Linked DNA regions of Homo sapiens: regions 1, 2, 3, 5, 6 and 7 are each linked to region 4. The links are contacts of gene promoters, found by promoter capture Hi-C in blood cells and fetal thymus (Javierre and others, 2016). All regions are on one chromosome and are shown on one strand. The core of a region is centred on a gene start or on the middle of the fragment in contact, and the rest is flanking DNA. Distances in the headings are between cores, read along the strand shown.

The links. The method cuts DNA at HindIII sites, captures the fragments that hold promoters and counts their contacts. A CHiCAGO score of 5 or more calls a contact.
Region 1: a fragment that was not itself captured here is called in contact with the fragment with the promoter of ABCA1 in region 4 in 11 of 17 cell types (monocytes, total B cells, total CD4 T cells and 8 more); the score reaches 9.2 in monocytes.
Region 2: a contact is called between a fragment that was not itself captured here and the fragment with the promoter of ABCA1 in region 4, in 14 of 17 cell types (total CD8 T cells, non-activated CD4 T cells, activated CD4 T cells and 11 more). The highest score is 8.3, in total CD8 T cells.
Region 3: a contact is called between a fragment that was not itself captured here and the fragment with the promoter of ABCA1 in region 4, in 2 of 17 cell types (M2 macrophages and monocytes). The highest score is 5.2, in M2 macrophages.
Region 5: a fragment that was not itself captured here is called in contact with the fragment with the promoter of ABCA1 in region 4 in 17 of 17 cell types (total CD4 T cells, naive CD4 T cells, naive CD8 T cells and 14 more); the score reaches 17.4 in total CD4 T cells.
Region 6: a fragment that was not itself captured here is called in contact with the fragment with the promoter of ABCA1 in region 4 in 14 of 17 cell types (M2 macrophages, M0 macrophages, fetal thymus and 11 more); the score reaches 8.9 in M2 macrophages.
Region 7: a contact is called between a fragment that was not itself captured here and the fragment with the promoter of ABCA1 in region 4, in 2 of 17 cell types (neutrophils and naive CD8 T cells). The highest score is 5.9, in neutrophils.

Annotation. Positions count from the first base shown.
Region 1 is chr9:105,387,435-105,390,408 of GRCh38, reverse strand. It overlaps SLC44A1 (solute carrier family 44 member 1), which reads right to left. Exons shown (of 16, transcript NM_080546.5): 16 at 1-1,376. The coding sequence ends at 1,353. Among named protein-coding and RNA genes, the nearest start is that of FSD1L, 59 kb to the left of the region's middle. The HindIII fragment of the contact is 2,549 bases long and covers 201-2,749 here.
Region 2 is chr9:105,427,884-105,430,931 of GRCh38, reverse strand. It overlaps a transcript of SLC44A1 not described here. Among named protein-coding and RNA genes, the nearest start is that of FSD1L, 19 kb to the left of the region's middle. The HindIII fragment of the contact is 6,517 bases long and covers 1-3,048 here.
Region 3 is chr9:105,330,962-105,334,055 of GRCh38, reverse strand. All of the region lies in intron 3 of SLC44A1 (solute carrier family 44 member 1), which reads right to left. Among named protein-coding and RNA genes, the nearest start is that of SLC44A1, 88 kb to the right of the region's middle. The HindIII fragment of the contact is 1,178 bases long and covers 793-1,970 here.
Region 4 is chr9:104,926,502-104,929,617 of GRCh38, reverse strand. It overlaps ABCA1 (ATP binding cassette subfamily A member 1), which reads left to right and starts at 1,463. Exons shown (of 50, transcript NM_005502.4): 1 at 1,463-1,683. LOC105376196 (a long non-coding RNA gene) reads right to left here and starts at 2,829. Exons shown (of 3, transcript NR_188620.1): 1 at 1,708-2,829; 2 at 1-110. RefSeq lists silencers at 1,304-1,493, 2,830-3,069 and enhancers at 1,694-1,773, 2,094-2,153. The HindIII fragment of the contact is 9,744 bases long and covers 1-3,116 here.
Region 5 is chr9:105,407,057-105,410,043 of GRCh38, reverse strand. It overlaps a transcript of SLC44A1 not described here. Among named protein-coding and RNA genes, the nearest start is that of FSD1L, 39 kb to the left of the region's middle. The HindIII fragment of the contact is 5,811 bases long and covers 1-2,987 here.
Region 6 is chr9:105,368,760-105,371,589 of GRCh38, reverse strand. All of the region lies in intron 12 of SLC44A1 (solute carrier family 44 member 1), which reads right to left. Among named protein-coding and RNA genes, the nearest start is that of FSD1L, 78 kb to the left of the region's middle. The HindIII fragment of the contact is 615 bases long and covers 977-1,591 here.
Region 7 is chr9:105,347,326-105,350,188 of GRCh38, reverse strand. It overlaps SLC44A1 (solute carrier family 44 member 1), which reads right to left. Exons shown (of 16, transcript NM_080546.5): 5 at 1,738-1,831. Among named protein-coding and RNA genes, the nearest start is that of FSD1L, 99 kb to the left of the region's middle. The HindIII fragment of the contact is 4,132 bases long and covers 1-2,863 here.

The DNA of each region.
Region 1 (2,974 bases), core at 226-2,725, 460 kb before region 4:
AATAAGTTTAAAAAATTTGCTCTGAAATATTTACTTTACATTAACAAAAATAGCTTTTTTTAAAAAAATTGTAACAAAAAGGAGTTATCGCATAAACAGATCATGAATTATTCTTAGCAAATTACACTTTTTTTTCTTAAAGCATTCACCATTACAACAAGCAGAACAATGGAGTATTAGCCATTCATATCTGGTAAGCTTCAGGAATAAAAAAGCAAAAAACCCCAAACCCACCCCCAAACAAAAACAACAGTCACACTGGAGGATCAAAACATTAGCCAATTCTTCAGTTAAACATCGTAGAACTCTGGATACTCAATGAATTGCCAAGGAGAGGAGCACCTGCCAGTGTGTTTTCAGATTGTATAGCAAGCATTTGAATAAAATGGCCGTTTAACCCTAAGCCACTGACGTTACTCTGAAGCCGAAGCCCAAGCACCGGAATTTTCAATGCTTTATGTTCCATGTTTCTGTCCCTTCTTTATTCCTCCCAGCATTACTTAATCTGCAAATCAATACACAGAAACTTAAAGGCTAAACTCGCTGGGTGCCCCAGCTTCCTTTCAAATCAGGCACACAAATGTGTGGAGGATGCTACTAAAGTCAAAAAGGAAAGAAAGACAAAATATAAGGGAAAAGTTTGCATACGAAAGATTATCTACCCTTTTCTTTTTTTACCTACTTTCTTTTAAAGAAGCGTTAGGGTAAACTACAAATACCTGAGGAGTTGGTTACCTTTTAATGTTGGCTGACAAATGTATGAACTATTATGAAAATTCCCATATTGGGCCCAATTGTATGTTTCTAAAAGTAAAATGACATGGCTTCTTTGATTGGGGAAAACTGATTGGAGTAATTCCTTATTTATCTGAAAGCATATGCCTAGTCTTGACCCACTAGGACTTATGCATCAGTAAAATAAGATCTTGATTTTATACAGACATCAGGGAAATTACCCCTGAATAAACTTTAGACATAATTAGGTACAATAATTTTACCTATTTTTAAATAAAGTTAAAATCTCCTCTAAGTTATTAAAAATGTTAATCAGATATGAATTTTAACATTTCCATTAAGACAATTACAGTTGAAAACATTAAATGACGGAAGTTGCCTTGTAAAAGCCACCCGTATGAAAGGAGTACATGTTTGACAAAAATAAGCATAAAAAAGGTATTAAATCCCTGTTCCTTTTCTCTGATTTTGGCTGATTTATGTGTGTGTGTGTATATACATATACATATATACACACATACATATACATATATACACACACCCACACACACAAATACATAGTTATGTGTATATATTGTTTTGGAATGTCAATGGGTTTCCATAACCGTCGGCTAGGTTCAAGCAGAACTTGCTCCCGAAGCCTAGAAAACAAAGTCATACAGAGTATAATCTTAGACAATTACCATTAAAAGGAGATCATGAATGATGTTACAAATATACACATGGTCACAAACAGCAAGACAGCAAAATGGACTGAGAATCCTTCTCCCCTGAATTCCTGGAGCTGAAATTCTTATGAATGTTGAAAGTCACACTTTATCCAGGATCATCTCTGAGATACACAGAGCATACTTCTCTGGCCCATGTTCCTACAGTGTCTAGGATTTTTCCTCCCTTTTCTCTTTAAGTTCTTTCCTATATGATAGCAAGCAGACAGTCAGAAAATCTCTTTCCTAAACCTCTTCATCACTTTTGGTACATTTTTCCAAAATCACTTTCAGAGAATCATAAAAAAATTCATAAATCTTTAAAGTTTCCTTAACTAGCGAGCCTCTCTCAGGGAAAAGTTCAAGAACAAAACCGGAAGTTCTCATGTTTAGTTCAATGATCTGCTGTCAAAAGGAAAATATAAAACCTCATTTTACTGAACATTATTTTATAGGCTAAAAATGAAGCCTAAATTAAAATATCTCATTGAGGAGGGAGGAAGATAGTGAATTCAAACAGCAGCAATGTTTCTAGAGCTAATGCAAAATAGGCATGATGCTCTTTTATAGAACTTTCATCTACAGCAACAATATGTGAATTATATCAAGCAAATACAAATAAGCAATCCTAAATTCTATCAATCCCCAAACTTTCAGTAGAAATTTCTGAAATACTTTTTTAGAAACACATGCAAAGGAATGGTGTTAGTAGGGGCCAACTCTAATCATGCATACTATGGAAGAGAAATAAAGAAGGTACTAAGGTGCTGAAAAAATAAAACTACTCTGTGAGCAGCATTTCACACTTGTCTTCTGGGAACTTTTTAACCATTTAAAACATCATTCTTAGGGACCCAATGCTACAATGTCCAAAGCACCAGAACAATGCACATAGAAGATGTATTTTGGGATGCAGCAGAGGGTTTTTGCCATTAATCTGCAAGCAATGAACTGATGAACAGCATAAAATGAAAGCAAAAATTAAATAAAGATTTTAATGCATTGTTTGAAGTAAGGGACACTATTTCAAAACTGAAAATACTAATAGGAAACAACTCTTTCTAAAATATTTGGCATCTGGTAGAATGCCACATAACCTGGGCAATTCTCCCAGGATTATTACCTATAAATTAGGAGTTTAGGTAAGGAAAGTATACTTGCATTCTGATCTACTACAATTCATCTACCATTCATTAAAGAATACTATAGAAATCTGTGCCAACTCATGGCCACATTACCTAGTCTTCAACCTCGAAATATTTCTCCCTTTCTTTAAATGCTTATTACTGAATGATGTAATGAAAGCTTCAATCACTAGAAAGACAGAAAAGGGGGAAAAGCTTGGTTTATATTTTAAGATTTCATATGTCTTGTTAAGTTTTGGGCTTAGAATCGATTTGCTGAACAATTAGGACCTCCAAGCAGTAGAAGGAAGGAAGCCTTCCTCATTTCTCCATGTTGCCATAGGGTTGGCAGAATCTCCACTGCTGCCCTCCTCAGCTTTTGTGAAATAAGAGGGATACAGAAAGGTG
Region 2 (3,048 bases), core at 410-2,909, 500 kb before region 4:
CACTTGTCGAGGATGTAGAAAAATTGGAACCCTCATACATTGCTGGTGGGAATGTAAAATGGGGCAGCTGCTGTGTAAATCAATTTGGCATTCCTCAAAAAGTTAAATACAGGATTACCATATGACCTAGGAATTCCACTCCTATGTATATAACCAAAAAAATTGAAAACGTATGTCCGCACAAAAACTTGTGTACGAATGCTCATAGCAGCATTATTCAGAATAGCGAAAAGGTGCAAATCCAACCTAAGTATCCATTAACTGATGAATAAATGAACGAAATATAATATATCACACATCAGAACATTATTCAGCCATAAAAAGAGATGAAATATTGGTATATGCTACAACATTATTGAAACTTGAAAACATGCTAAGTGAAAAGCTGACAAAAATAATTCTACATATTGTATAATTTCTTTCACGTGAATCCAAAATAGGCAAATCCACAGCAAAATAAAGTAGAATAGTGGTTTCCAGGGGCTGGGTGAGGGGAATAGGCACTGAATGCTAAAAGGCATGGAGTTTCTCTTTGGGCCAATGAAATGTTCTAGAGTCACGTGGTGGTCTTAGTTGCACAGCTTTGTGCATTTGCCAAAAACCATGAAGTAAACACTTTAAAATGGTCAGTGTTATGATATGTTAATGATATCTTAATTTTTTAAAAAAGAGAAAGAAAATAACTATGAAATAATTTAGTAATAGATGATTGAGCTCCACATCATAAGAACTATAATTAGGCCAGGCGTGGTGGCTCATGCCTGTAATTCAGGCACGGGGAAGCCAAGGGAAGAGGATTGCTTGAGCCAAGGAGCTGGAGACATAGAGGGACCATGTCTCTACAAAAAATTTAAAAATTCGCCGGGCATTGGCGGCACATGCCTGTAGTCCCAGCTACTCAGGGGGCTGAGGCAGGAGGATCACTGAGGCAGGAGGAGCCTGGAAGGGTCAAAGCTGTGGTGAGCTGTAATCATGCCACTGCACTCCAGCCTGAGCAACAAAATGAGACCCTGTCTCAAAATATATATATATACTTGTAATTTTACAACCTATAATTAAGGTATACACATGCATAAAGAAATATGAAAGAAGATTTAAATAAAATTGAGATCACACCAAATTTCTGCATACCTTGAAATGGTTCCTAAAAGGCTTCTCCGTATTTGAAGATTTAAGTGTTAATGTTTTTACTATTTGCAATAAATTCTAAATCTTGGATGATGATTAATCTGTAACTTCATTGAGGTAAGCACTTTTTCCAAGGGTACATCTTTATTGTTTTCCCCTCAGTAGGCATAATTACTGTCAAAAATTAAGGTAATACAGAAGGGCCAGGTGTTGTGGTGCATGCCTATAATCTCAGCACTTTGAGAGGTCAACGCAGGAGGATAGCTTGAGCCCAGGAGTTTGAGAGCAGCCTGCACAACATGGCAAAACCTTGTCTCTACAGAAAATTCAAAAATTAGCCAGGCACGGTGGCACATACTTGTAGTCCCAGCTACTCGGGAGGCTGAGGTGGGAGGATGGCTTGAGCCAAGAAGGCGGAGGTTGCGGTGAGCTGTGATCGTGCCACTGCACTCCAGCCTGGATGACAGAGCCAGACCTCGTCTCAAAACAAAAACGAAAACAAACCAAAAAGATTAAAGTAATACAGAAAAGCCCTACTCCTAAATCACTCTAACCTTTGAGATAATCTGGTTTTATATCCTTTCAGTTCTTCCTTTTAAGGCAAGATACGAATTGTGTGCCCTGTGGATGTGGAAGCGTATCACTTACCTGTGAGTGAGACAAGGAAACAGCCACTGTGGAGATGTGAATGCAGCTTTGTTTTATTTTTTGACCATATGCCCAGTAACTCATTAAAAGTTTGAAGTGAGTATTCCTGCACCATTCAAGAATATCCGAATTTATTAAAGTTATGAATAACCGGCCGGGTGTGGTGGCTCATGCCTGTAATCCCAGCACTCTGGGAGGCTAAGGCAGGCGGATCACGAGGTCAGGAGATCGAGACCATCCTGGCCAACATGGTGAAACCCTGACTCTACTAAAAATACAAAAATTAGCTGGGCGTGGTGGCGCGTGCCTGTAGTCCCAGCTACTACAACTCCAGAGGGTGAGGCAGGAGAATCGCTTAAACCCAGGAGGCGGAGGCTGTAGGGCGCCGAGATTGCGCCACTGCCCTCCAGCCTGCGCAATGGGAACGAGACTCCATCTCAAAAAAAAAAGTTATGAATAACTTCATCGATATCATAGTCATAATTCTAGTAGTGAATGCATACTGTACTAAATGTTTCCTAGGTAGCACAGCCCATGCTGACTGTTCTGCATACTCAGGATAATGGAATCCTCCCAACAATCAGTCTTTTACAGATGGGGAAACTGAGAATTAGATGGGCTAAGTAACTTGCCCAGGACCAAAAAGATGGCAGAGCTAGGATCTGAACCCAGATGTGGTTGATCACAGAGTCTAAACTCTGAACAACTATACTTCTTAGAATATCATAGATCTACTCCATGTGACAAAATATCCACACAAGTTGATGGGGGAAGGAATAAATTGCATAACAAATGGGCCTGACTCCATATTATATCACAAAATTATTTCTAGCTATTAATAAGTATAAAAAGTGAAAGGAAACCATTAAAAATAGAATATAAATTGTATCTTAATTTATAAAAGAAAATAATTTTTTAAAAATAGAAAATATAGGTAACTATTTAACTGATTTGGGGGCGTAAGGGAATTATCAATAAATTTACTGATTTGGGGGCTTAAGGAAATTATCAAAAATTTACATCGTATAGATTATAGGTAAAATTATCACCAGCAAAATTAAAAGACAAACTACAAAGAAGGAAAAAGATTTGCTACTAATATGACCGAAAAAGTACTAGTATCCCTAATACATAAAAATCTTTTATTCAACAGTAGGAAAAATGGTGACATCTCAATAACAAAATGGCAAAGGACATGAATACAGAATTTACGGAAGAGGAAACATAAAGGACTAATAAATTACTAAAAAATACAAATTAAAATAACAAAGG
Region 3 (3,094 bases), core at 132-2,631, 400 kb before region 4:
AAGCATTCTCTTACTAATTCTCCCTTCTTCTATCCTGGGCGTCTGACTAAGCATGTCTATGCCTTTGACCCTGTATAATGAATTGCACAAAGACAGATTCTGGACAGGGAACAATCAGGTCCTTGAGAAATGTGTCACAAAACCTTTGAATCAACCACTACTGCTACCACCACCACCACCACTATCACTGCTACCATTGCCATCACCACCACCATCACTACTAAGAATACTTCTTTTTTTTTTTTTGAGATGGAGTTCTGCCCTGTTGCACAGGCTGGAGTGCAATGGCATGGTCTCAGCTGACTGCAACCTCAGCCTTTGAGGTTCAAACGATTCTCCTGCCTCAGCCTCCTGAGTAGCTGGAATTACAGGCACCTACTACCACACCCGGCTAATTTTTGTATTTTTAGTAGAAACGGGGTTTCACCATGTTGGCCAGGCTGGTCTTGAACTCCTGACCTCAGGTGATCCACCCGCCTTGGCCTCCCAAAGTGCTGGGATTACAGGTATGATAAGCCACTGTGCCTGGCCTAATAATACTTAATGATAAAGACTTTTAAAAATGATAGCCAATTTTATTGAGTACTTACTATTTATCAGACACCGTATTAAACACTTTACATGTATTAACTCATTTAACTCTCACAGTAATTCTGTTGTGTGTTTCTCTATGGGGTGGGAGGTGGGCAGTGGAACTGGGATGGGAGAGAGGCATTGAGTACACAGTTCTAAGTGATGAGCAATGCCTTGAGAACCATCTGGGGAAATCACATCACAGTAGAAAAAGAAGCTTAGGGAAAAGGAAAAAAAAGCCAGAAGCTGCCAGGGCCTTGCTGCTGGGCCTAGGCTGGATCAATGACAACCTCTTGAGAATAGATACACTGTCTGTCCTGTAGGCTTCAGCCTCCTCCAAGGGCAAAAGTATCCCTATTATATTTCTAACTTCTTTTATACCTTAAAACATATTCCTTTGATTTATGCTAGTGACTGGGCAGCAACCTTATCCCTTGCTTTAGTCAGACCAATGTGAACTTGCTTTCTGGTTCTCTCTTAATAGTTCTCTGACCTTGGAAAATATATTTATCCTTCTGAGCCTCAGTTTCCTTATCTGAAAAATTACATATCACCGATTTTATAGTTTGTTGTAATGTGATCAATAATATATATAAAGCACCTAACATAGTATGCACTCAGTGATTCGTGTCATTACCATTAAGAATACTATTTGCTTTCCATACATCTTACATTTCATAGTAAGGAACTAAACTCAACCCTTTCTTATATGGGCATAAAACAGGGATACAATACTAACATTCGGTTTTCATTTAGGAAAAAAAAATCTGTGTAGGAGTATTCATGACTAAGGGTAAGGTCATTACCCTTGAGAACCAAGTAGGCCCCCAAAACAGATCCAGCACAAAGAAAACAAGAACAGGAGGGTGAGAAGAATGCTACCATGACTACAACACTGTGAAATTAACACTGCACATTTTTCAGCCTGTGTATATGGTTTGAAAAGATCTAAAAACTTATTTGAATAAGAAATACACATCTTCAAGAAATACACACTCACATACATCACATGTTTACACTCTGTATCTTACCTGCCTTCCATAGTCTAAGAATATATTAAGCTGGCCAGGTGCAGTGGCTCAAGCCTGTAAACCCAGCACTTTGGGAGGCCAAGGTGGGCAGATCGCTTAAGGTCAGGAGTTGGAGACAAGCCTGGACAACATGGTGAAACCCCATCTCTACCAAAAACACAAAAATTAGCTGAGTGTGGTGGCAGGCACCTGTAATTCCAGCTACTTGGGAGGCTGAGGCAGGAGAATCGCTTGAACCCAGGAGGCGGAGATTGCAGTGAGCCGAGGTCGCACCACCGCACTCCAGCCTGGGCAACAGAGCGAGACTGTGTCTCAAAAAAAAAAAAAAAAAAAGAAACAAAGAAGGAAAAGAAAAGATATTAAGCTTAATTCTCTATGCCTTTCACATATTCAAATGCACACACATGAAGTTAAAAATAACATACAGACCTTGACCTTAGGTTCAGATTCTATTAACATTTGTTGGGTGTGTAGGTGTTAGTCACTGTCACATTCAAGAACTTATTTGATCTTTGCAACAACTCTGTGAGGTAGGGGCCATAACTATTCCAAAGATGTTAAAACTGAGGCCTTGAGGCCTAACCACCAGGCCCAAGAGAGCTAGTAGGTGCCAAAGCATGAATTCAAACATAGTACCTCTGATTCTGAGTTTCACTGTTTCCATTCTGCACTATTCCAAAATATTTCCTACAAATATCATTAGTAAATTTAACTGTTCTCTATTAACTTTGAATATTCTGTTTCCAGCATTCTGAAGTTCATCCAATCCATGGCAACATGCTTAAAAGTAATTATACTTTAACTAATTCATATTTAACTGAATATTTATAGGAGGCCAAGTGCTTGTATCAAACCAATTTATGATTTATTAAAACTGCACTTTCTTGCCTTTTGATTGGAAAATGTCCTTAACCAGGTAAATAAATGCTTACATTAGTTTTTCAGTTTTCACTTTAAACAAAATGAACTGATAGTTTTATTTTTAGACAATGAAACAAATAATCGTAATAAGCATGGTATTGACAAACCAGATTATTGTAACTGAAAACTACAGATGAGTATTTCAGCTGAGAGGGTAACACGCAGTATCCACCTACTTTCACTCCCAACAGGGCAAGGATCAGGAAAGAGATGCAGCACATACATTTTGAAAAAGCTTCTCAGGCCAACTCTGATTATGTGCCTTGGCCTCCATACCTCCCCCTTCCCTATGCCATCTCCAAGGTGGAGAGCCCATGTCACAGATAATCCATAAACCTAAGTTAAGAGCAAGTTTGTCGTTGTTATCCTCAGTGAATCTTTTACTAAGCTTATTAATAACTTAAATACAGCTTTAAGTTTCATATCCTTTAGAGGAACAGGAATAAATAAAATACCAAAAGTGAGAATGAAAGACAAGAAGCAGTAACAGAAAAATACTCTATAAACAAAACAGCCTAGACACCTGCAGGCATTGGCATATACAATATGCACATAGCATGATCAGATGA
Region 4 (3,116 bases), core at 214-2,713:
GTACCTGGGCTTGAGCCGTGGCCTGGAGATCCTGTTGACTGTAGCATGGAGGGGGCTTGTGCAGCTGAATGTCTGTATGCAGGTGGTGGGAGTTCTGGAATATGATGGAGCTGGAGGTGGGAAGAGAAGTAGGCTTGGGGCAGCTCTCTCATGCCACCTCATTCTGGCCAAAACTCAGGTCAAACTGTGAAGAGTCTAAATGTGAATCTGCCCTTCAAGGTGGCTACAAAGGTATCTTTGTCAAGGTAGGAGACCTTGTGGCCTCCACGTGCACTTCCAGGGCCTGCTTGGGCCTCTTCTACGGGTCTGTCCTGAGTCTTCTATGAATCTGCCCTTCAGGGCAGATTCATATTTAGACTCTTCACAGTTTGACCTGAGTTTTGGCCAGAATAAGGTGACATTTAGTTTGTTGGCTTGATGGATGACTTAAATATTTAGACATATGGTGTGTAGGCCTGCATTCCTACTCTTGCCTTTTTTTTTGCCCCTCCAGTGTTTTGGGTAGTTTTGCTCCCCTACAGCCAAAGGCAAACAGATAAGTTGGAGGTCTGGAGTGGCTACATAATTTTACACGACTGCAATTCTCTGGCTGCACTTCACAAATGTATACAAACTAAATACAAGTCCTGTGTTTTTATCACAGGGAGGCTGATCAATATAATGAAATTAAAAGGGGGCTGGTCCATATTGTTCTGTGTTTTTGTTTGTTTGTTTCTTTTTTTGTTTTTGTGGCCTCCTTCCTCTCAATTTATGAAGAGAAGCAGTAAGATGTTCCTCTCGGGTCCTCTGAGGGACCTGGGGAGCTCAGGCTGGGAATCTCCAAGGCAGTAGGTCGCCTATCAAAAATCAAAGTCCAGGTTTGTGGGGGGAAAACAAAAGCAGCCCATTACCCAGAGGACTGTCCGCCTTCCCCTCACCCCAGCCTAGGCCTTTGAAAGGAAACAAAAGACAAGACAAAATGATTGGCGTCCTGAGGGAGATTCAGCCTAGAGCTCTCTCTCCCCCAATCCCTCCCTCCGGCTGAGGAAACTAACAAAGGAAAAAAAAATTGCGGAAAGCAGGATTTAGAGGAAGCAAATTCCACTGGTGCCCTTGGCTGCCGGGAACGTGGACTAGAGAGTCTGCGGCGCAGCCCCGAGCCCAGCGCTTCCCGCGCGTCTTAGGCCGGCGGGCCCGGGCGGGGGAAGGGGACGCAGACCGCGGACCCTAAGACACCTGCTGTACCCTCCACCCCCACCCCACCCACCTCCCCCCAACTCCCTAGATGTGTCGTGGGCGGCTGAACGTCGCCCGTTTAAGGGGCGGGCCCCGGCTCCACGTGCTTTCTGCTGAGTGACTGAACTACATAAACAGAGGCCGGGAACGGGGCGGGGAGGAGGGAGAGCACAGGCTTTGACCGATAGTAACCTCTGCGCTCGGTGCAGCCGAATCTATAAAAGGAACTAGTCCCGGCAAAAACCCCGTAATTGCGAGCGAGAGTGAGTGGGGCCGGGACCCGCAGAGCCGAGCCGACCCTTCTCTCCCGGGCTGCGGCAGGGCAGGGCGGGGAGCTCCGCGCACCAACAGAGCCGGTTCTCAGGGCGCTTTGCTCCTTGTTTTTTCCCCGGTTCTGTTTTCTCCCCTTCTCCGGAAGGCTTGTCAAGGGGTAGGAGAAAGAGACGCAAACACAAAAGTGGAAAACAGGTAAGAGGCTCTCCAGTGACTTACTTGGGCGTTATTGTTTTGTTTCGAGGCCAAGGAGGCTTCGGGAAGTGCTCGGTTTCGGGGACTTTGATCCGGAGCCCCACATCCCCACCACTTGCAACTCAGATGGGACCGGAGGCGGTGTTAAATGGGGAGACGATGTCCTAGTACGAGCTCTGGTGACCCCAGGACTCTGCGCTGCTGCGCTTGGGGCTTGCCCGACGGTGGAGACCGGGGAGCATCTCTGGGCGTGGAGACCCGGGCGCAGTACCCCGGGCTCAGAGGGGTCGGGGGTTCCCGGGCGTGCTGAGGGCGCTGCTGCCGGGTGGGGAGAGCTGCAGGTCCGGCACCGAGCGCTGCTTTGTTCGGAGGGCCCTGAGCTGGCTAGAAACCCTTCTGGTTGCAGGTCGGCCAGTACCTACGGAGACAAATGCCAGCACTGAGTCTTCACTCGGTTCTTAAGAAGCTGGTCTGTTCTGACCTGGGAATTGGCTATATGCTCCCCGGGACTGGAGCGGCACAGTCCCGGACTGTGAATCCGGGAACTCGAGTTGGAGGTGTCCCAAACGGTCCGTGGTGCTATTGCTCACTAGAGGCCTTGGGTCTTTGTTTGACCTGAGGGGTAGGGAGGTCCTGCCTACAGTCTCCGTGCGCTCAGCTGAGCTGGTGTCCCTGGCGCAGAGCGCGGACGAGTTTTGTTTCCTTTTCTTTTTCTTTTTTTTCTTTCCTTTAAGTCTCGGTCTGTCGCCCAGGCTGGAGTGCAATGGAACGATCTCCGCTCACTGCAACCTCCGCCTCCCGGGTTCAAGCGATTCTCCTGCCTCAGCCTCCTGAGTAGCTGGGATTACAGGCGCGTCACCACATCCAGCTAATTTTTGTATTTTTAGTAGAGACGGGGTTTCAACTTGTTGGCCAGGCTGGTCTCGAACCCTCGACCTCAGGTGATCCACCGGCCTCGGCCTCCCCAAGTGCTGGGATTATAGGCGTGAGCCACCGCGCGCGGCCGAGTTTTGTTTCTTTTAAAAACAAGACTTAGGAGAGCCTGCGGAGACCCGGAGGTGGGGTGCCCAATCCTCCCTCTCCCACGTTCCCTGCAGCCCCATCTTCCAGACCGTTGCTGCTGGTCTCTCGGGGCAGCTTCTGCCTGGGCGCAGATGGGGAAGCTGGGCCGAGGTGGTGCCGTGGAATGACCGGGAGTAACCCCGGCGGGCGGCGCAGAACTCGGAGCTCCGCCGCGGGGCTGGGCTGGGCTCTGCCGTGAGGGTGGGGGTGCTGGGCGCGCGGGCTGCGGTGGCCCCCGGAGACTGGCCCGCAGCGCCTCCTGGCCGGAGGACCTAGGAATCGGCCGGCTCTACTAGGTGTCTTTGCTCGCGGTTCCGACTGTGAATCCGGTGAAGACCGGTGGTTGCAGACGGGGAGGAACTATGAGGTTG
Region 5 (2,987 bases), core at 152-2,651, 480 kb before region 4:
TGTTATTTATTTCTAATTTCATTCTATTTTGACCTAGAATATACTTTATATGATTTAAATCTTTTAAAATTTACTGTGATTTGTTTTGTGGCCTAACATGGTTTAGCCTTGAGAATGATCCATGTGCACTTCAGAAGAATAGTGTTGAATAAAGTGCTCTACAGATGTCTATTATGTCTAGTTGGTGTATGATGCTCTTCAAGTCTTCTATTTTCTTCTTGATCTTCTGTCTAGTTATTCTATCCATTTTGAAAATGAAATATTGAAGTCTCAACTATTATTGTTGATTTGTCTATTTCTCCATTTAATTCTGTTAGTTTCTGTTTCGTGTACTGTGGATTCTCTTATTAGATGCACATATGCTTATTTTTTATTTTGTCACCAAGGCTGGAGTGCAGTGGCGTGATCATAGCTCACTGCAACCTCGACCTCCTGGGCTCAAGGGATCTTCCCACCTTAGCCTCCTGAGTAGCTAGAACTACCAGCACACGCCACTACACCCGACTAATTTTAAAACTTTTTGTAGAGACAGGGTCTTGTTTTGTTGCTGAGGCTGGTCTCGAACACCTAGGCTCAAGTGACCCTCCCATTTTGGCCTCCCAAAGTGTTGGGATTACAAGGGTGAGCCACTGCACTTGGCCCACATATGTTTATAATTGCTATATGTTATTGATGCATTGTTCCTTTTATGACTATAAAATGTCCTCTCTAGTAACAATTTTTGTCTTACTGGCTGTTTTGTCTGATATTTCTATAGCTACTCCAGTTCTCTTTTGATGACTATTTGCATGGAATATCTTTTTCCATCTTTTCACTTTCATCCTATTTGTGTCTTTGGACGTAAATTGAGTCTCTTGCAGATATTATATAGTTGGAGTCTGTTTTTTAATCTATGCCACTAACTCTGCCTTTTAACTGAAGAGTTTAATCCATTTACATTTTAAAAAACTGGTAAGTAAGGCCTTGCTTCTGCCATTTTGTTGTTTATTTCCTTTATATCATATCTGTGTCTTCTCTTATGTTTAATTGATTTTTCTAGTGTATTATTTTGATTCTCATTTCCTTTTATGAATGTATATTTTTAGTTATTTTGTTAATGTTACCTTGGGGGTTATAATTAACATCCTAAATTTATAATAATTTAGTTTGAATTAATACCAATTTAGCTTAAATAATGTACAAACACTGTGTTCCTATGTAGCTCCACCTTCTCCCTTTATGTTGTTATTGTCATACATTATATCTTTATACATTGTGTGTTCATTCAGATACATTTATAATTATTGTTTTATGCATTTGCCTTTTAAATCATGTAGAAAAAAAGTGAGTGACAGGCCGGGTGCGGTGGCTCACGCCTGTAATCCCAGCACTTTGGGAAGCCGAGGTGGGTGGATCACCTGAGGTCAGGAGTTCGAGACCAGCCTGGGCAACATGGTAAAACTCTGTCTCTACTAAAAAAGACAAAAATTAGCCAGATGTGGTGGCATGCACCTGTAGTCCCAGCTACTCAGGAGGCTGAGGCAGGAGAATCACTTGAACCCAGGAGGTGGAGGTTGCAGTGAGCTGAGATCATGCCACTACACTCAGCCTGAGCAACAGAGCAAGACTCCGTCTCAAATACAACAACAACAACAACAACAAATGAGTGACAAACAAAAAATACAATAATACTAGCTTTTATGTTTACCTATGTAGTTTCCTTACTGATGTTTTTATTTTTTATTTTTTTGTATAGCTAGAGTTACTTGTGTTCTTTCATTTCTTCCTGAATAATTTCCCTTAGCATTTCTCATAGGGCAGGTCTACTAGAAGCAAACTTCCTCAACTTTTGTTTGTATGAGAATGTCTTGATTTCTTTCAGTTTTTTGTTTTTATTTTATTTTATTTTTTGAGACGGAATCTCAGTCTGTCGCCCAGGCTGGAGTGCAGTGGCGAGATCTCGGCTCACAGCAGCCTCCGCCTCCCAGGTTCAAGCAATTCTCCTGCCTGAGCTGGGATTACAGGCGCCTACCACTATGCCAGCTAATTTTTGTATCTTTAGTATAGACAGGGTTTCACCATGTTGGCCAGGCTGGTCTCCAACTCCTGACCTCAGGTGATCCACCTGCCTCGGCCTCTCAAAGTGCTGGGATTACAGGTGTGAGCCATCGTGCCTGGCCTTATTTTTATTTTTTGAGACAGAGTCTTGGTCTGTTGTCCAGGCTGGAGTGCAGTGGCATGATCTCAGCTCACTGTAATCTCCACCTCCCAGGTTCAAGTGATTCTCCTGCTTCAGCCTCCCAAGTAGCTGGGATTACAGACATGTGCCATCACGCCCAGCTAATTTTTGTATTTTTAGTATAGACAAGGCTTCCTCATGTTGGCCAGGCTGGTCTTGAACTCCTGACCTCAGGTAATCCGCCTGCCTCAGCCTCCCAAAGTGCTGAGATTACAGTGGGATTACAGGTGTGAGCCACTGTGCCTGGCCTTCTTTCAGTTTTGGTGGAGAATTTTATTGAATACAGGATTCTTGATTAACAATTGTTTTTCTTTCAGGGTTACTATACATCATCCCTCATTCTGATAAATCAGGGAATAATCTTATTAAGGATCACTTATATGTAGTGAGCTGCTTCCCTCTTGCTGCACTCAATATTTTCTATGTTTCTTTGTCAACAATTTGGTTATAATCTGTTTGAGTGTGGATCTCTTTAGGTTTATTTTATGTGGAGTTTGTCGAGCTTCTTAGATGTGCATTCATGTCTTTATCACTTTTGAGGAGTTTTCAACCATTATTTCTTCAAGTATTTTTTTCTTTATAGCCCAGACCTTATAAGACAATATTTCTTCAAATATTCTTTCTGCTCCTTTCTTTCTCTCTTCTCTTTCTGGGACTCCCATTCTGTGTATGTTGGTATGCTTGAGGGTATCCCACAGGTCTCCTAGGCTCTGTTCAGTTTTCTTCACTCTTTTCTTTTTCTGCTCCTTAGACTGAATAATCTCAGTTG
Region 6 (2,830 bases), core at 35-2,534, 440 kb before region 4:
CCGGCTAATTTTTTGTATTTTTAGTAGAGACGGGGTTTCACCGTGTTAGCTAGGATGGTCTCGATCTCCTGGCCTTGTGATCCACAAGGCCTCCTTGGCCTCCCAAAGTGCTGGGATTACAGGCGTGAGCCACCGCACCTGGCCTGCCAATTACTTTTGTAAATAAAGTTTTACTGGCACATAACTGTGCTCATTGTTTACATATTGTCTATGGCTGCTTTCATGCTACGGTGATGGAACTGTGCCGTCGTGAAAGATCCTGTATGGCCCACAAAGCCAAAAATATTTACTCTCTGGTCCCTCACAGAGAAAGCTTGCTGACCTCCTGTTCTAGAGTACTGCCAAGGATTAATATCAACCTCATCTACTCACTCATCTACTGTATGTGGAACCCACCCTCTTACTGGAAATACAAACCACATTTGCTCATTTCAAGTTTTAGTAACTTCCTCCACAACTTCCAATCTTTCAGCATCTTTCACTGTAATTCTTCAGTTCAACAATTTAATTGACAAAGGTCTTCAGTGATCTGGGATATAACTCCTTTGAAGAGAAATACCTTATTTCCCACATTCTAAGATATAATCAAGAGACTAATGAGCCAGTTATTCATAACAAGTTTTTGGGAGAAAATATCCTACCATATTAAATACACATATTGATTATGAGATACATCCTGATACTAAATAGCTTCATAATGTCTAGAATCAAGGAAATTGGACAACCCATTTAAATCAACTAGGTACTAGCTTATGTTCACTCCCGCCCTCAATGGGAACAACTCACTCTTAACTAAAGTGTTCTGCCCTTTCCAGTTTACCATGAATTTCCTTGAGACGGAAGCAAGAAAGGACCCACACGTCTCCATTCTCTCTCCTCTGTTATCATCAGACCAGCTTACACGAGGAGAATGCCCAACACTTCCAAACTAAACTATAAAAGCTTTTTTTGTTTCCCTCATTAGTTTTTAGAAGCTTCATTTCATTTGAGAATTATTATTATTCCTCTTTTGCTTCTTTCTTATCACCCCACCCTGCCCCATTCCATCTGCTTTTAGGGCAGAAGTCTATTTGTTGGTAGATAAGCAGCAATAATTTCTTTTCTCCACCCCTCTGAGAAATTTCTGTGAGGGTCGAATGTCCAGAAATTTAGCCTTTTAAAAGGCAATATTTCTATGGATCTATGCAATTCCTTTGTATTCAACCCAACTGAAAAAAAGTAGGTGGATATTTTGCAAGCTCTTTCACTCACTCCCAAGGTAGGAAGATGAACTGGATACACAAAGGTCAAGATGACCTCTTCAGGAAGAAAAATGTGCTGCAGATCACAGCAGGCAAATGAAAATTCCCTCCTTTTCTATACTTCCTAGTCTAAAATAATTCTTGCTTAAGTTCTTAAGAATTTCGGAGTCCTTTGTGGCTTTCCCTGATAACTATTCTCTGAGCTTTCTTCAGACTTCTTGGTTGAGATTTTTAGAGTCCACCCACCTTCTCAGACAGCCTTCCTTATCTGGAGTTAAACTGCCCACAGACAGACATCACTGATTAACATTTAGCCCACGCTCAACATTTGCTTGGGCAGGACACAAGCTTGAGAATATTCAACCCCCAGGAGCAAGGTGAAGGATGACCACCATCCAGGAATCTTTTTAAAGGATGCCTGTTAGCCTACGCAATCCCTGGTTGTACTTTTGTGTGATGGGATATAGTTAAAAAGTACTGATCATGTGAAAGAAAATATGTTAGGGCAGAGGGTCACCATGCATGGAACAGGCCTGTGTGGCCATCTGTCCCAGAATACAACTTCTTCATTTTCACATCTTCTTTCCTTTCTCTAGTGAAGGACCCAGAAATTCTCTTAAAGTTTAAAATATTCACATAATGACTCACTTAATAGGGGCAAGCTACACAATAATGCTAAGGGAATATAGGGTATGTGCAGTTCTGTGTGGATTCGTATAAATTAAAGAAATGAAAGGGTAATTACAATTATTCCTTTCTTATTTGAGGCAAAGGAGAGAAGGGGAATGCTATGGTCTGAATGTTTGTGTCTTCTCAAAGTTGGTATGTTGAAACATAGTCAGCAAGGTAATGGTATTAGTAGGTAGGGTCTTCAGGAGGTGATTAGGTCATGAGGGCTCTACTCTCATGAATGGATTAGTGCCCTTATTTAAAAAAATACCCCAAAGAGCTGTTTTGTCTCTTCCACCATGTGAAGTCACAGCAAGAAAGCACCATCTCTGAACCAGGAAACAGGCCCGCACAAACCACTGAATTTGCTGGTGCCTTGTTCTTGGATTTCCCAGCCTCTAGAACTATTGGAATAGTTCTCATCAACTACATAACTATGAAAAATAAATTTCTGTTGTTTAGAAGCCACCTAGTGTATGGTATTTTGTTATAGAAGCCTGAACAGATTAAGACAGGGCACAAAGTCAAACCCATACTGTAGGCTTTATCTAATTTTGTTCTAAATTCTTAGACTTTTTCAAGGTCATAAAAATTACAAGTGTGTTGCAAATCTTAATTTCAACAGGCTTTCTTTCTTTTTTCTTGAAAGAGTCTCACTCTGTTGCCCAGGCTGGAATGCAATGGCTCAATCTCGGCTCACTACAACCTCCACCTCCCAGGTTCAAGCGATTCTCCTGCCTCGGCCTCCGGAGTAGCTGGGACTACAGGCACGAGCCAGCACACCTGGCTAATTTTTGTATTTTTAGTAGAGATGGGGTTTCACCATGTTGGCCAAGATGGTCTCGAACTCCTGACCTCAAATGATCCACCTGCCTCGGCCTCCAAAAGTGTTGGGATTACAGGCGTGAGCCACCGTGCCT
Region 7 (2,863 bases), core at 38-2,537, 420 kb before region 4:
AAATAAGTAAAACATAAGGATCTTTAAACACAGCATAAACACAGCATGCCGTCAGTTTTCAGATGGTATAGGTTCAGCACTGCATTTTAGATTAGTGAGATATCAGATGATGACCTTGTTAGAAGCCATTTCTGTCCATCTCTAAAATCTTCTCCCCTAATACTATTCTTTGTCTTCCAGTGAATACCCCTAGGACATTGTGAGATGCATGTGTGTACCAAAAACTGGAAAACCCAAAATAACCAGGAACAGGCAGTCCTCAACATAGTGGCATCAGAGGTCAGAGGCGGGGAAGGATGTGCAGGATGAGCTGAGCTGCCCCCACCTGACATCCTGCCCCTATTACACAGGAGCAGAGACCTCCCTCTCACACCCAGGCTTTCTGGCTATACTGTCATAATATGTTTTAATCTTGAGAGCATGATTCTATATTCAAAGAATATATTTAAAACAGACTTTACCAGTTGGATAGATAAGGGTATAGAGCTTTTCTAATTTTTATATGGATAAATTTTCTCCTAAGACTATTCAAAGGATCCCCTTTTCTTTACTCCCACAGCCTCCCTAATATTCTCAATTTATATGAATGTAATCTCCGTAGCTGTTGGTTTAAGGCCATAATTTGTAAGTCTCTCTTACTATCTTTTAAAATAGTCCCTTTAGTTTTATGTCTACAGGCTTTAAATTTTGATTTTTCAATAGCAACTTGACAAGATTAATGAGCTGAAAATATATTTAACTGATATATCTTTTTTCTACTTTCAACAGAAAAATTCAAATTCAAGTTAATAAAACCCAAGTTACACCCATAAGTAATCCAAAAGAAAGTAGACATGAGTCTCAAAATTTTTTATACAACAGCTTCCTATAATATATTGAGATACAATTAAAGTGGCCTCAAGTACATTTTCCTGGAGAAGTTGACTCATGTTACACACAGTTGGCAATATACACTAAGGTTGTGATCTGACCAACACTCCAAAGTATGTGGGGGTGTGTGTGTGCACAAATATACATACACACATATACAGATACGTATACCTACCTAATTCTGAGCATATATTTTACAATGCTTGATAATTCATTTCCTTTCAAAAAATCTATTTATAATTTTAAATGTTGCTTTACTTATCACTACTTTGAGATCCTTCCAAAGAACATTTCTTGTTTCATCTTTGTATCCATCATGCACAGTAGGTACTTAATAATAAATGTTTGTTGAAGAAGACCTTGGATAAGATATAGCAAACAACCTAATACAGAGAATGTTACCTAAAAAATATAACCTGAAAGAAACTATGGGGAATAATCACTGGCAGACTTTCTAAATTTACAAAATAAATTTAAAACAATCCCAGTAAATATTACTAGGATAAATCAAAAAAACTCTTTGGAGATTGTGAGACTTGGTTTCTAAGTTTGTTGCAGATTTTACAGCAGTTCAGTGGTTTTGTGCACTTAAAAATTATGGCATGAAAATAAAAACAAAAAAAGCAAGCCCCTAAAAGAAATGAAATTTAAAATATGTCAGAACAAGAAAAGTTGGTTGCCTATGTGTTGTTTTTAAATATTAAATATATAATGTCATTTCTATTGCTACTTTAAAATTTTTTTAATAAAAGTATTGGACCTGGCCAACAGGTATCAAATGACTATTTTCTCAGAATAACATATATTGTTTAAAATTTACCTACAAAAACAACAGTCACAAGTTAACAACTTTGCAATAAAATTTACCTCGCTGGAACTGGTAGTTTGGGGCAGAGAACAGAAGATTTTGGAGATGTAGTGTATTCAGAAGGCTTTAGGTTGTAGCTACATAGGGCTGAACCTGTTGAAAGAAAAATTATGTTAGGTGGCAGAACAGTCTGAAAAAATTCTCTTACTATTCATTTTAATTTTGTATTATTCAACATATGCAACTTTCCAAACATTATAGAATTCATAAAAATCTGATTTGATCCATATTATAAGTCCTCAATCATTTAAAACTGATTCTTCTCTAAAATTACTATTAATGTAATTCATGTACAAATTTTAATTAATATTAAAGGTAATAACAATAAGTACTAGAACTACCTTTATTGAGTGTCAGGTTCTCTGCAAGATGACATTTATGCATTATACAATTTACTATAATTCTGTAAGGCAGGTATTATTAAGCCTACTTTAAAGAGAAGGAAATAGAGGCTAAGAGATAAGGTAAATAACTTGCCTAAGAACACAGAGCTAGTAGGAGTAGAACTGGGATTAAACACCACATCTCTTTCACTACAAAGCCTGTGCTCAGCTACACATTATGCCTGTTTTTCCTATGCTTTCAATTACTAAATGCTTACAATTAATGCATATAACACATGTAAATTCAGATAATACATTACTTATTTAAAAAGCAGGAAACATTCCTAACTGTAAATAAACTGAAAAAATTGATAAAACTGATAAATTGATAAAAGTGATTCCTAGTTTTCAGAGTTTAAGACAGCTTAAATTCAACTTTAGATTGGCTATGCAAAAAAAAATTAATTTTTCTGATTATATGGCCAACACATATCTAATATATGTAAAATGTACACAATGTAAAATTTACATAATACATTTATGTGTTATATAATTTACTATAACTCTATAAAGCTGGTATATACATTGATTTCCTTAGTATAGATAATTGAGATGGATAAAGTCCACTAAATCCAATATACATCTTATTTTCCTGATCCGTTAATTTTAAAATACAGCAACTAGAATACTGGAAGGTTCATTGTATAATATATTGTTAAGTGAGGAGACCCAGGCTCCAGTTCTAATTTTGCTGCATTTCATCACATAAACTGTTTATATTTGATTAACTGAGGTTCGTACC